Regions from separate parts of the Homo sapiens genome. Here regions 2 and 3 are each linked to region 1. Evidence: promoter capture Hi-C in 16 types of primary human blood cells and fetal thymus (Javierre and others, 2016). All regions are on one chromosome and are shown on one strand. The core of a region is centred on a gene start or on the middle of the fragment in contact, and the rest is flanking DNA. Distances in the headings are between cores, read along the strand shown. Region 1 holds the start of SERPINB5 (serpin family B member 5). Region 2 has its middle 54 kb from the start of SERPINB7. Region 3 has its middle 33 kb from the start of SERPINB7.

What was found. The method cuts DNA at HindIII sites, captures the fragments that hold promoters and counts their contacts. A CHiCAGO score of 5 or more calls a contact.
Region 2: a contact is called between a fragment that was not itself captured here and the fragment with the promoter of SERPINB5 in region 1, in 4 of 17 cell types (M2 macrophages, M1 macrophages, endothelial precursors and 1 more). The highest score is 7.1, in M2 macrophages.
Region 3: a fragment that was not itself captured here is called in contact with the fragment with the promoter of SERPINB5 in region 1 in 1 of 17 cell types (M1 macrophages); the score reaches 6.1 in M1 macrophages.

Annotation. Positions count from the first base shown.
Region 1 is chr18:63,475,068-63,478,862 of GRCh38, reverse strand. SERPINB5 (serpin family B member 5) reads right to left here and starts at 1,905. Exons shown (of 7, transcript NM_002639.5): 1 at 1,818-1,905. RefSeq lists an enhancer at 1,957-3,156. The HindIII fragment of the contact is 5,766 bases long and covers 1-3,079 here.
Region 2 is chr18:63,827,493-63,831,287 of GRCh38, reverse strand. No RefSeq gene overlaps it. Among named protein-coding and RNA genes, the nearest start is that of SERPINB7, 54 kb to the right of the region's middle. The HindIII fragment of the contact is 3,657 bases long and covers 1-3,652 here.
Region 3 is chr18:63,806,652-63,810,446 of GRCh38, reverse strand. No RefSeq gene overlaps it. Among named protein-coding and RNA genes, the nearest start is that of SERPINB7, 33 kb to the right of the region's middle. The HindIII fragment of the contact is 4,848 bases long and covers 1-3,795 here.

The sequences.
Region 1 (3,795 bases), core at 656-3,155:
ACTTGAACCTGGGAGGGTGAGGTTGCGGTGAGCCAAGATCGTGCCACTGCACTCCATCCTGGGTGACAAAGCAAGACTCCATCTCAAGAAAAAAAAAAAAAAAACTACGTTTTTACTGTGTCAGAGTATCGTAGATATCATTTAGCCTGGCCTGCCTCATTTTAAAGATGGAAAGACATGGTGAAAAACATCTCTCAAGTATTTGGTATAACCAGTCCTTAGGGAATGCCATGAGAAACCTTGCCTATTATAATATCAGTAATGGAATGCCAAAAAACACAACCTCTGTTGTCCACATTCTAAGTCTTTGAGGAGCAAAGGATGTGCAGGATTAAGAAAATAGGATATTTTGAAGTTTCTGCAATGTGAAAGACTATGAGGACTAAACGAAGTGATTAAGTGAATCAATGTATATGAAAAGTGCTTTGTGGGCAAGAAAGTACAATACAGCTATTAGTAATTGCTTTAATTTCCCATGGCAGGGGGGCGTCTGCTTTGCTCTGAAGCATCATAGCTGCTCCTGTCTCTTTAGAAGCCTGATCTTGACCACTGACCCAGCCCACTGTTGCCAAGCAGTAAACTTACAGCCAGACTCAGCCACACCAGAATGGCCCAAATCGCTGAGACTGCATAGCCCCAAAGTCAATCCACAACCCAGAGGGATTGAAGTGGCACAATTCAAGGCGTTAGGAAGCAAAGATATAAACCTGCTGACTCATTTCCTTTGGAGACTCCTTTCCTCAGACAGGCTTCATCTCCACCCATGAAGGAACTCATCGAACACTTACACTAACTGACAGGGACTGAGGTTTGGAACCCATTATCGAAAACCTCCCGGGAGATGTAGGGGATGAAAAAGATGGTAACAGAACCCACGGTGTTGTGGAAACATCCCGAGCTGCAAGTGTGAAGGCCTGATTTGATCTCAGCGGTGCTACTTACAAGCTGTGTGCCTTTGGACACCAGATCACCTCTGTGAGTTCTGCTCCTCATCTACAGAATGAGGGGGCTGGGCTGAAATATGTCTAAGAGCCCCCAGCTCTGAGGATCTGGTTACAAGTCTCTGGAATAGCCTGGCATGTTGGTTTTTAGTATGATATGCTTAAATGAAGCCATAAGAAAAAGTGTACAGCATATGAGTAAGAAACTACAAGCAGCTATTACAATTTATAAGTCCAAGAATATGCATCTGAAATGTGTAACTTGTTTAAAGTTATGCTGAAACCCAGAAAACTGAAGGGAGAATAATTTCCGCTTAGAAGAATGCAGTTGCAAGTAGATGAACAGCGATCTGATGCTTAAAAATGCCAAAAAGAAGGGCAGTCCATATGCCTAAATCTCAGCCTTACAACGTCAGCCAGGGAGAAGAGCCAGCCAGACCCACCAATACTTCTCAACTTTCCCCAGTTTGCGGGTACCACACCCTTTCTGAAACTAGCATTGCAAAATTCATTCTGAGTTCCAAAGTAGGCCTGAAAATGTCCTCAGAAGTATTTTCTCCTCCGTGAATCACGGTTGCACCCCTCTACCACCAAAACCTCCGAGCCACGTGACTTCTTCATATTCTTACCTTGTATGGTTAAGTGATTTTACTCCCTCTGCAGTGTTCCTGGTGCTCAAAGGGTTGGGAGCTGGAAATACTGCCAACATGGGGGATGAGAGGCGACAGTACTCAACCCAACAGCCCGTCTTTGAAAACAGCCCCAAAATGGACCTAAGTCCATTTTGTTCACCATCTCAAATCAGCTCAAATAACGATATTTATGAATTTCCCTGAAAAAAGGAAGTCACCAGCCCTGCTACCCCACCTTGCTTACCTGGAGTCACAGTTATCCTGGAAAATGCGTGGAAAAGGAACAGGCAAGCGAGGAGCACAAAGACCTGGATGTGGAGGCGACCGTGTCTGGGCAGAAGCAGCGGTGGCTCACCTGGGCAGCACCGCCACGCCCACTGCCAGCCCAGCTCCACGCCCCGCCCCGCCCCGCCTCGGCGGCACTCCTCTCCTACTCAAGCCTCTTGGCAGCTTGTCCACAATTGAAAGAAATGATTCAGGCTGAAGTTACTGTTGTCTGCACAGCTTCCAAAAGGCCTCCAACATGTTCGGGCAGGAAGGGGCTGTGAGTTACATGCATACGTACAGACATGCGTACGGCAATCCTCTCGGCCCACGCAGGACCGGAAGGTGAAATATTCGATGAAATAAAAGTAATGTGTGATGATAGTAACACTACAAATTTCTCAGACACGTTGGTGGCACAAAAAGTACTCTGATCTCCATTCTTTTTGTGTAAACTGCAGCAGCTCATTCTGCTAGATGCCAAGAGAGGTAGCTGCCCATTAAACAGAAAGACAATCAAAAAAGAAGGAATGGATATATGTATAAACACAGTGCCTACCTAAAAATTAGGTACTATTAGCAAAATATTTACTACCAAATTGGTAGGAGATATTGTTTAATGGGTGGCGCAGGAAGTTTCTTTTTAAAATCCTGTGATTAGGATTACTCAGGCCTGGCGCGGTGGCTCACGCCTGTAATCCCAGCATTTGGGGAGGTTGACGTGAGCGGATTGCTTGAGCCCAGGAGTTTGAGACCAACCTGGGCAACATGGTGAGACCCCATCTCTACAAAAAATGTAAAACAATAGCCTAGTGTGGTGATGCATGCCTGTGGTCCCAGTTACTTGGAAAGCTGAGACGAGAGGATCACTTGAGCCTGGGAGGTCAAAGCTGCAGTGAGCCGTGAGCTAACCACTGTACTTCAGCCTGGGTGACAGAGCAAAAGAAACAAAAAGAAAAAGGAGTACGCAGCTCTGCTCTGAAATCTCTTCGTGGAGCCTGTTCTTGTCCTCCTGTCTTCCCACAGCTTCTTCATTTGGCGGGACCTACTCCCTTCCAGCCGAATCAGTCTCAGGAAAGGACCTGAAACGGAGCTGGTTGCTTCTCTGCTGTGCTTATCTAGAATTCCCTATTGTACATTTACTACATTGTTTCATAATAATCTCTTACATTCTCCTATATGTGACTACAACAATGTTAAAGGTAAGTGCCAAACTTCATTCATTTTTATAACACCAAAGCTTGGTACAGACCTGATGTACAGTATGCAGTCAATAAGTGCTTGTTGAGTAATGAATAAGAGCAACTCGCTATATTAACTGACTAAACTAAGATTGATAACAGCTTCCCCTCCCCCATGTCCTGGGTATTTTAATGTTAACCAGAATCAAAGTCATAAACTAAGTGAACTCCAAAAACAGAATTTTAGGCATCAGTGGAGCAAGTGGAGGGAAGGTCATAGGTGAGGAGGTGTGGAAGGATGCTTCTTAAAAATTCTATTATCCAGCTGTAGGAGGGAAAATGAGAATTTGGGAGCAGAGTCATAAATTTGCAAACTAAGTCTAACCACTCATTGCTTGAGAAATCCTGAGCAAATTGCTTAATCCCTTTATCTTCAGATTCCTCATCTGTAAAATGAGATCTATATATAGTTCTCATTTGTCAATAAGATCGATAAAATGAGATATAGACAGAGATGGATGAAGAGACAATTCTTACATACTTTCTGACACATAGCATGTGCTTCCTAATGATGGCAATTAGTACCACTTTGCCCATTGGTTAGGTAGGCTCGGGGAATAGTGGACAAAAGACTGGAGCATGTTATTGACATTGAATTCACCACATTTATTGAATACCTGCTTCGTGCTTGCTACTGTGGTCTACAGATTTCAAGCGACTTGCATTTAAATGGTAGAGCCTCTCTATTCTCCTTTTTGAAGTTTTAATTCCCTCTAA
Region 2 (3,795 bases), core at 575-3,074, 350 kb before region 1:
CATGTGTCATTCTCAAGCACAGAGCCTTTCTCTTGTAACTACAGCTGCGGAGGCTCAGTGGTTTATCTGTTCCAAGTGGATGTCTTTGCTGGGTAGGACAATGACCACACTCAGGTGATCCTCCACGTTGGGCATCTCAAGCACTTGTAAAGGAGGGTCCTTAATGGAGCCTCCTTTTAAAGCTAAATGGAGCATGTATCATCTCCACAGGTCTGCTCTGAGACTACAAAAGTAAAAACAGTGAAATAATAAAGCCAATCTCTTTCTTTTGCTATTTAGGACATAGAAAATTTATGTTTATTTTCATCCTCCAAAATTGCCTACAGTTGGTGGCAAAAGAAAACCATCCATCCGTCTTTAGAAATACCTACGATTGAACGTTATTTTGATGACATAAAGAGGGGAGGAACCTAAACAAAGCTGCTACTAAAGTCCAAAGTATTCAAGTTCCCCAATATATTAATTTCATTCAGGTGTACTTTTTTGACTTCCAGATGCAGTTAATTCACTTCAAAGGGCTGGGAAATACCCACACCATAAGATCTTACCAGGATAACCATTTTTAAAGGACAAATAGGTCCTTTCAAGAGCATAATTTAGAAGTCTCTCCAGCTCGAGTAAAATCTGACTAATCTTAACTAGTCAGCAGCATTGAGCTGATTCTGATAATTTCTGGAGTTACAAAATAGCTAAGAATGTGACAAAGCACTAGGTGAGCTCTCATAATTGGACTACTTTAAGGAAATTTTGTTATGACCATAATGATACTTTATGTTTTTATCTTTGAAATGCTAGTTAACAGGTATATACACCTGCATTGTGTATATAAGCCAAATGGATGAGATTTTTCTGTGAAATAAAATATTCTGTTTTGTTAGCTGCTTTCTCTAGCAAATCTATTTGCTGTGGGGTATGCTTACCCCTTTGAGCATCTCTTTATGAATCCTGCTAAAATAGCCCATTTTCTACATACTGTGATTCCCCAACCGGGCTGATCCTTGGAAGGACCTAAGGGGCTCTTTGAAAATATGTATACTCAAGTTCATCATGCAAATCAGAGTCCCCAGGAAGGTGGCCCTAGAATCTGTATTTTCAAAAATCACAGCCATAACATCTATATAATTTATTGTTCATTTTATAACCTCAAAATGTGAATGTGATGGTAATATTCTTTGTAAGGGCATTACTACATACTTCCAGATATGACTAATGTGTTTGGCTAGAGGTTTATGTTTCTCCTTAATTTACTACTTATTTTATATGAAAAGTATTTATTCAGAAATAGAAAGTCTATTCTTACAGTTGACAAGAACAAATTTTAAATTTACTTGTAATTTCAAGCATTCCTTGGTGGGCTGGAATAAATGCATTTGATAGCACAGTGGCTTAGTTATTATATACAGATCAATTCTTTCTTGTTAAATAACATGTCTTATTTTGGTTGTGGCCTGATATTTGGGACATTTTTGACACTTAGAAAAGTTGGGAAGGCTGAGGGTGCTAAGTAGAAGGGCAGTAAGCCTAGAACCTTCCACCTTGACTGTGCATTTTGTTCACCAGTTCAGCTTGGCTTTGTAGGGAGATCAAACTCATTTTAGAAGTGACCTGCCTGGTGCAGCAAACCACCATGGCACATGTATACCTAGGTAGCAAACCTGCACATTCTGCACATGTATCCCAGAACTTAAAGTATAATTTTAAAAGAAGTGATTTGCCTGTTAGTTCCTCAGTTGTCTCTTGCTGTTATTTTCTATTGCCTGACCTTATTTCCAGTTAGCAAGAGGTAAGTGGCTTGATAATAGTTTAAGTGGTCTTAACCAAGACTTATTTTAAATACTTTCAAAGTCTATATTTCATAGCATTTTTCAATTGTACAACTGCATTGCTAAAATAGAATTTCTATTTTTATACAGGGTAAAAAACAGTGGAAAATTTTAAAGAAAGGTTCAACAAAAAAATAAATATTTTATAAATCAAAATCTGCTTTTTATTGCAAATGTAGCTAGGATAGCCACTTGGAAATTAATTTGCTTCCCTAAGGCCAGAAATAATTTAGCAGTTCTTAAGGACAAAAATTTTGAGGATTACTTTTAAGAGATAAACAAATTAAGCCATGAGACTACATGAGACCACCTCATCCAACGTGAAAGCCATTGCTTTTGTTTGGTCTTTCTGAAGTGCATTTTTCTGGTTCTCTCTGAAGGAGATGGCATTAACCAACACCAGCTGATTGGGAGATATGAGGCTGTGGGGTGATAAGAGATCCTAGATTTCACCCGTGGGAAGTGAAACAAAGCAAGACCATACTTAATCAACAATTGAATATGAATTATTTTCACTGGTTTTGTTTTGACTTTAGATCTATTTTTAACTGGCATATATAATTAACACCAGATATCTTCATATGAACCAAAAACAAGACTTTTGAGCAAATATGTAAAGCATTCCCAATTATATAATGGACAAGGAATGTGGAAGATGCAGAAGAAAAGAAAGTGAGTGTATAGCCTATTTATCTATTTTATAGAAACATGCAAAATTGTGGATGAAATTTTCTTGTCATACTGTTAATAAATGTTATACTGTTAATGTGTCTTTGTTTTTCTACCTTCAGTAAAATCCTTGACTAATAATAATGACATGGAGCAAAAACTCAAATGTAAAATAAAAGACAAAATCTTCTGAGAAAATCTAGCATATTTTCTTACATGTACATTTGCATGTACCCTATGACCCAGCAATTCCACTAGTAGATATTTATTTAACAGGAGTGAAAGAATATGTACTCAAAAAGCCTTTTACAGGAATATTCACAGCAGCATTATTCATAATAGCTAAAGAAATACCTGAGACTGGGTAATTTATAAAGAAAAGAGATTAATTGGCTTACAGTTCTGAAGGCTGTACAGGAAGCACAGTGGCTTCTGCTTCTAGGGAGGCCTCAGGAATCTTCCAGTCATGGCAGAAGACAAAGAGGGAGTGAGGCGTCTCACATGGCAGGAGCAGAAGCAAGAGAGAGAGATGGGGGAGGTTCTACTCACTTTTAAATGATCAGATTTCATGAGAACTCACTATCGTGAGAATAGCACCAAGGAGATAGTGCTAAACCATTCATGAGAAACTGCCTCCATGATCCAATCACCTCCCCCCAGGCTGCACCTCCAACGCTGGGGATTACAATTCTACGTGACATTTGGTGGAGACACAGATCAAAACCATATCATAAACTCTGAAAAATTCATGCTTCAGCTGGGTCTGCCTAAAGTATGATTGAAGTTGTTACAAGCTAGCAACTGAAAGTTAGAATCCTAAACTCTTTTGTATTTTATATGAAACAAAATGCATGTATAAAATATATTTTATATTCTATATTAGCATGTATTTATCTATCTGTAATATCTTTTTTATTTTCCCATAGTTTTGCGTGCATTTATCTATCTGTAATATCTTTTTTATTTTGCCACAGTTTTGATAGCACAGACAATTCTAGAGTAGATTAAATAAAGACAGAAAGAAAAGGTTTCGACTTTATTTATGGAAACATGTTTTATTCTAACTTACCAAGAGAAGTGGATGAGCTGCTTCTGCAAAAATTCCACTTGCCATGTGGGCTTGATTGCAGCTGGACTTACTGATTTCAGAGAGGAAAGCTTGAATACGTGAATAGACTCTTCTATCTTGATCACATAAGATAGTGTTAGAAAATACTTGAAAATGGGAATTGTGGTATCTGGTACTTTAGTATTAACTGAAGTTGACAAAAAAGGAACCAAATACTATTAATTCCACTATTTG
Region 3 (3,795 bases), core at 461-2,960, 330 kb before region 1:
TGCAAAGAGGTGGCTGGGTGTGGTCAATGACATCTATGGTATTATCTTTAATGAAACATTTACCGGTTTCTCTTGCCTATAAAGTCTATTGTCTATAAAGACTCTAATTAATAGTTACGAGTGAGGTGGTGCATCCCTGCCTATTGTGCAGGATGTTTAAAGGCACAGATCATCCTAGAGCCCTAGTCCCATAGAAAGTGCATCTATCTAGTGGTCCATGGCTCTTACACTTCACTTTCTTTGTGCTACGATGGATGGTTCCCATCCGGTATGCCCTAATTTAGGTATAAGTGACAGGGATTTGTAACCTAGGGAATCTATGAATGGGATTCAGGAGCTCTTTGAACTTCTTAAAATTATATACCTAAATTCTTTCGTGTGCATTTTTGGATACCCCTAAATCTGATTTTCAAAAGGAGTGCTTAGTTCAAAAGTAAAGAACCGTTACAATAACAGCTCCAGTGGCCTTACAGGGATGCCCCTGCCATCCAGCTTCTCCCCTTCTTCTGTCTTCCCCTCCCCTCTGCTCTGGCTGGTGATGTTACAGTTGTTTAAAGATTGTGAAGTTGAATCTTGAGAAGTCCTCCCCTTTTACTGCCACATTCATCCAGTCGTTCACAGAGTCCTGACCAGTCAGGCTGCCTCCCAAATCTGTCACCTTCATTCACTATGCGCATTCCCAAGACCCATCTTCTAGGTTAGGCCACCATCGCTTCTCACCTGGACCACTGTCCATTTCTCCCTGTCAAGTCTCGTAACACTCTAGCCCCATGCCCACAAATCAGCAAACACAACCCTTCAGAAATTCAAAGCAGAGAGGTTCACTCCTCTCCTTAGAGCCCTTCAATGCCTTTGCAGTCATCTTAGAACCAAAGCAAACTCTTCATCCTACTGTCCAAGGCCCTCTGTGGCCTGCCTACTGCCCCTCCCCAACCCACCTTTCACTGCGCTTATGCCCTCTACATCCTTGCAGGAATCCGAGGAGACTGTATTCTCTCACTGTGGGCCCTGGATCATGCTGTTGCACCCACTGGAACCCTCTCTCCTTCTCCTCCCATTCCTCCTACTCCTACTCATTGTTCCACATCTGAGCCACAGCATCCCTTCCTCCAGGAAGTCTTCCCAAACTTCGGGAATAGTGTAGAAACCCCTGCTTCACATGTCCATAGCTCATCTGCCCTCACTCATCACATTTATTTCCCTGCTATGCCTGTGGAAATTGTGACCACTCCTTCTAGCCTAAGACTAAGACTCTTAGTCACACTGAAGAGTATTGTCTGAAGAGGCACAACCATGGGGTGGGAGAATGGTATAATGTAAAATAGATTGTTTTTAAAATATCTAGAAAGAATTTCTGCTCCATCCACACTTCCCTTTCCATTCGGATCACTTTTTCTTTCTTCTCAATGAACTGATAATATAGAGTTATGTTATTTTGCTTTGTTTAAATTATACAACATTCATTAAGAGTCAAACTATTTGTAAAGGTTTAGTCACTTTAGTTTCACTAAAGTATTCTTATATTTCAAGGACAGTGGTATTCTTGTTTTGGTTCACAATGCTATAGGCAAGGAACAAAGAGTAACAAGGAATGTCCAACTATGCAATTAAGTTTTGTTAACCAGGCTGTTACCTGTTTTATTAGGTAAGACTTCTGTGGCTTTCTCTTTTGAAGGTGCTGATGATATCTAACAGGAGGTTTAGGTTTATAAATACTATTCTAGCCATGGGTTTTCACACATTCTAGTTTTGTCTGCAGGAATAGAAATGAAACATTAGTGTCAAGAAATGTCCAAATGATTAAAGATACATATACTGCCTTTCCCTGGATAAGTAGCATCAATCAGTCAGTGAAGTTGTCTACAATGTGCCAGAGATTACAAAGGGAGCAGAAGCTGTCTCTTCTCTCAGTGAGTTTATACTTAAGAGTTTATTATTTGGAGAGTTTACAATATTATTCCTGTTATAGAAACTCTCAGGAAGATTATTATAAATAATATCAAGCCAAGGGAAATCACCTAAATGTCTAAACTACCCAAACACGAGAACACATAGCCATTATGGACTTGTCCAAATTTGTAAGAGGTGCGGTGTTCCAAGAAAATCTGAGGTCATCAACGATGCTTGATCAGTCAGTACGAATGCCAGGGAAGAAGTGAGCCATGTGACATTCTGGGGCATGAAATGAGAGGACTCTGAGCACAGCTGAGGCATAAGTAAGATTTGTAATGAAGTCCACAACAGCATGTTATGAGGGAAACAGCACACATGATCCTGGGAAATTGCCTCTCCTCTCTGAACATTATTTTTCTTATGAAATAGAAATAACAATAATAATCATAATAACTCCCACTTCACACAACTGTACTGACAATTGAGATGAAGCCTGGGAAATTGTTTTGTAAGTGATGAAGCAGGAATGGCAATGAAGAAAATGATTGTGAAGATGATGACAGTAATGCTTCGCCTGGGCATTGAGAGATGAATGAAACACACTTCCTCCTACCCCTCTAATAACAGAAGATCCAGTAGTGCTCCTTCGCCCACCTTAGAGATCAAGATTGTGCCTTCATATGGGCTTTGGCATATGACTAGCAGAACATAGAAAGTTCTCAGGAGCCCCTGGTGGAGGTGGGAATTAGGGCTGGATACAGTCTGCACTTGTACTCTGACTTTGTTCCTTTCTTAGGACTCTAAGGGAGTTTTTTCATTTGACATTTGAAAGGGATACCTACCATATGCCATTTTCTGTCCTTAAAGAGTTTGTTAGCTAGCGAGACACCACACAACATACATGCACATACATACGCATATAGACGTGCACACACACAAACAACACATAGCAAGAAATCTGAACACAGCTCTCATACAAGGATGCACAATGTGTTCTTTGAGTCCAGCTGAGTGAAAAGCTACACAGAGAACATGAACATGGCCAGTTTCTTGAACAATTAAATGAGTCTTATCAAACAAAGATAGAGAGAGCATCCCAGTCAGATGGGACAAGCTAAACAATGTGAGAGTAGTGGATTTGGTTTCCAAATAGTACAAGTTACCTCAGGTTAGAGTCTTTGGCAGAGAGTGGCAAAACAAATAGGAAAAGGAAGGTAGAGTAACCTTGTGGGAAGGCTTTGAATGTCGTATTAGAAAGTTTAGACTCTATCCTGAGAGGGTGAAGAGCTGTCAGTGTTTTATAAGAATATGAACTTGATCTGATCTGTGTTTTAGGTAGAAAACTGGCATTTATAGATGAAAACATAGAATATCTTCACAACTTTAAAAGTGAGAGAAAAGTAAGAGTCACAAGAGACAGGTAGAACAGATACGAGACGAATCCAGAGAAGAAATGCAGCCTAAACAAGGTCAGTGTTAATGAAAAAGAAGAAAACAGGATATATTCAAGAGTCATTTTCATGGTAACACCAATAAACAGTTCCATTGTGAAAAAGGAGGAAGATACAAGGATCATCTTGATGTTTCGTGTTTGAGTTTTAGTCAAAGGACCACAATGAGCACCGAAGACTGGATAACAAACTCAAGGAAAGGGGTATGTGTTTCCTCTTAGATGTGTTTAGTTTCACCCTAGGACATTCAGGTGGATTTATCAGGAGGCAATTGTGAATCAAGATGAAGTTAAGCATATAGATAGTTGTCACCAGCAATTATTGAAGCCATGTGACTGGATGGAATTATATATAGAAAGAATTTTGAAAAAGAGGAGAAGAACCCTGCAAATAACTGTGGTTAATAAACAGATTAAAGAATTATGAACCTGAAAGACGAAAAGTCATCTTT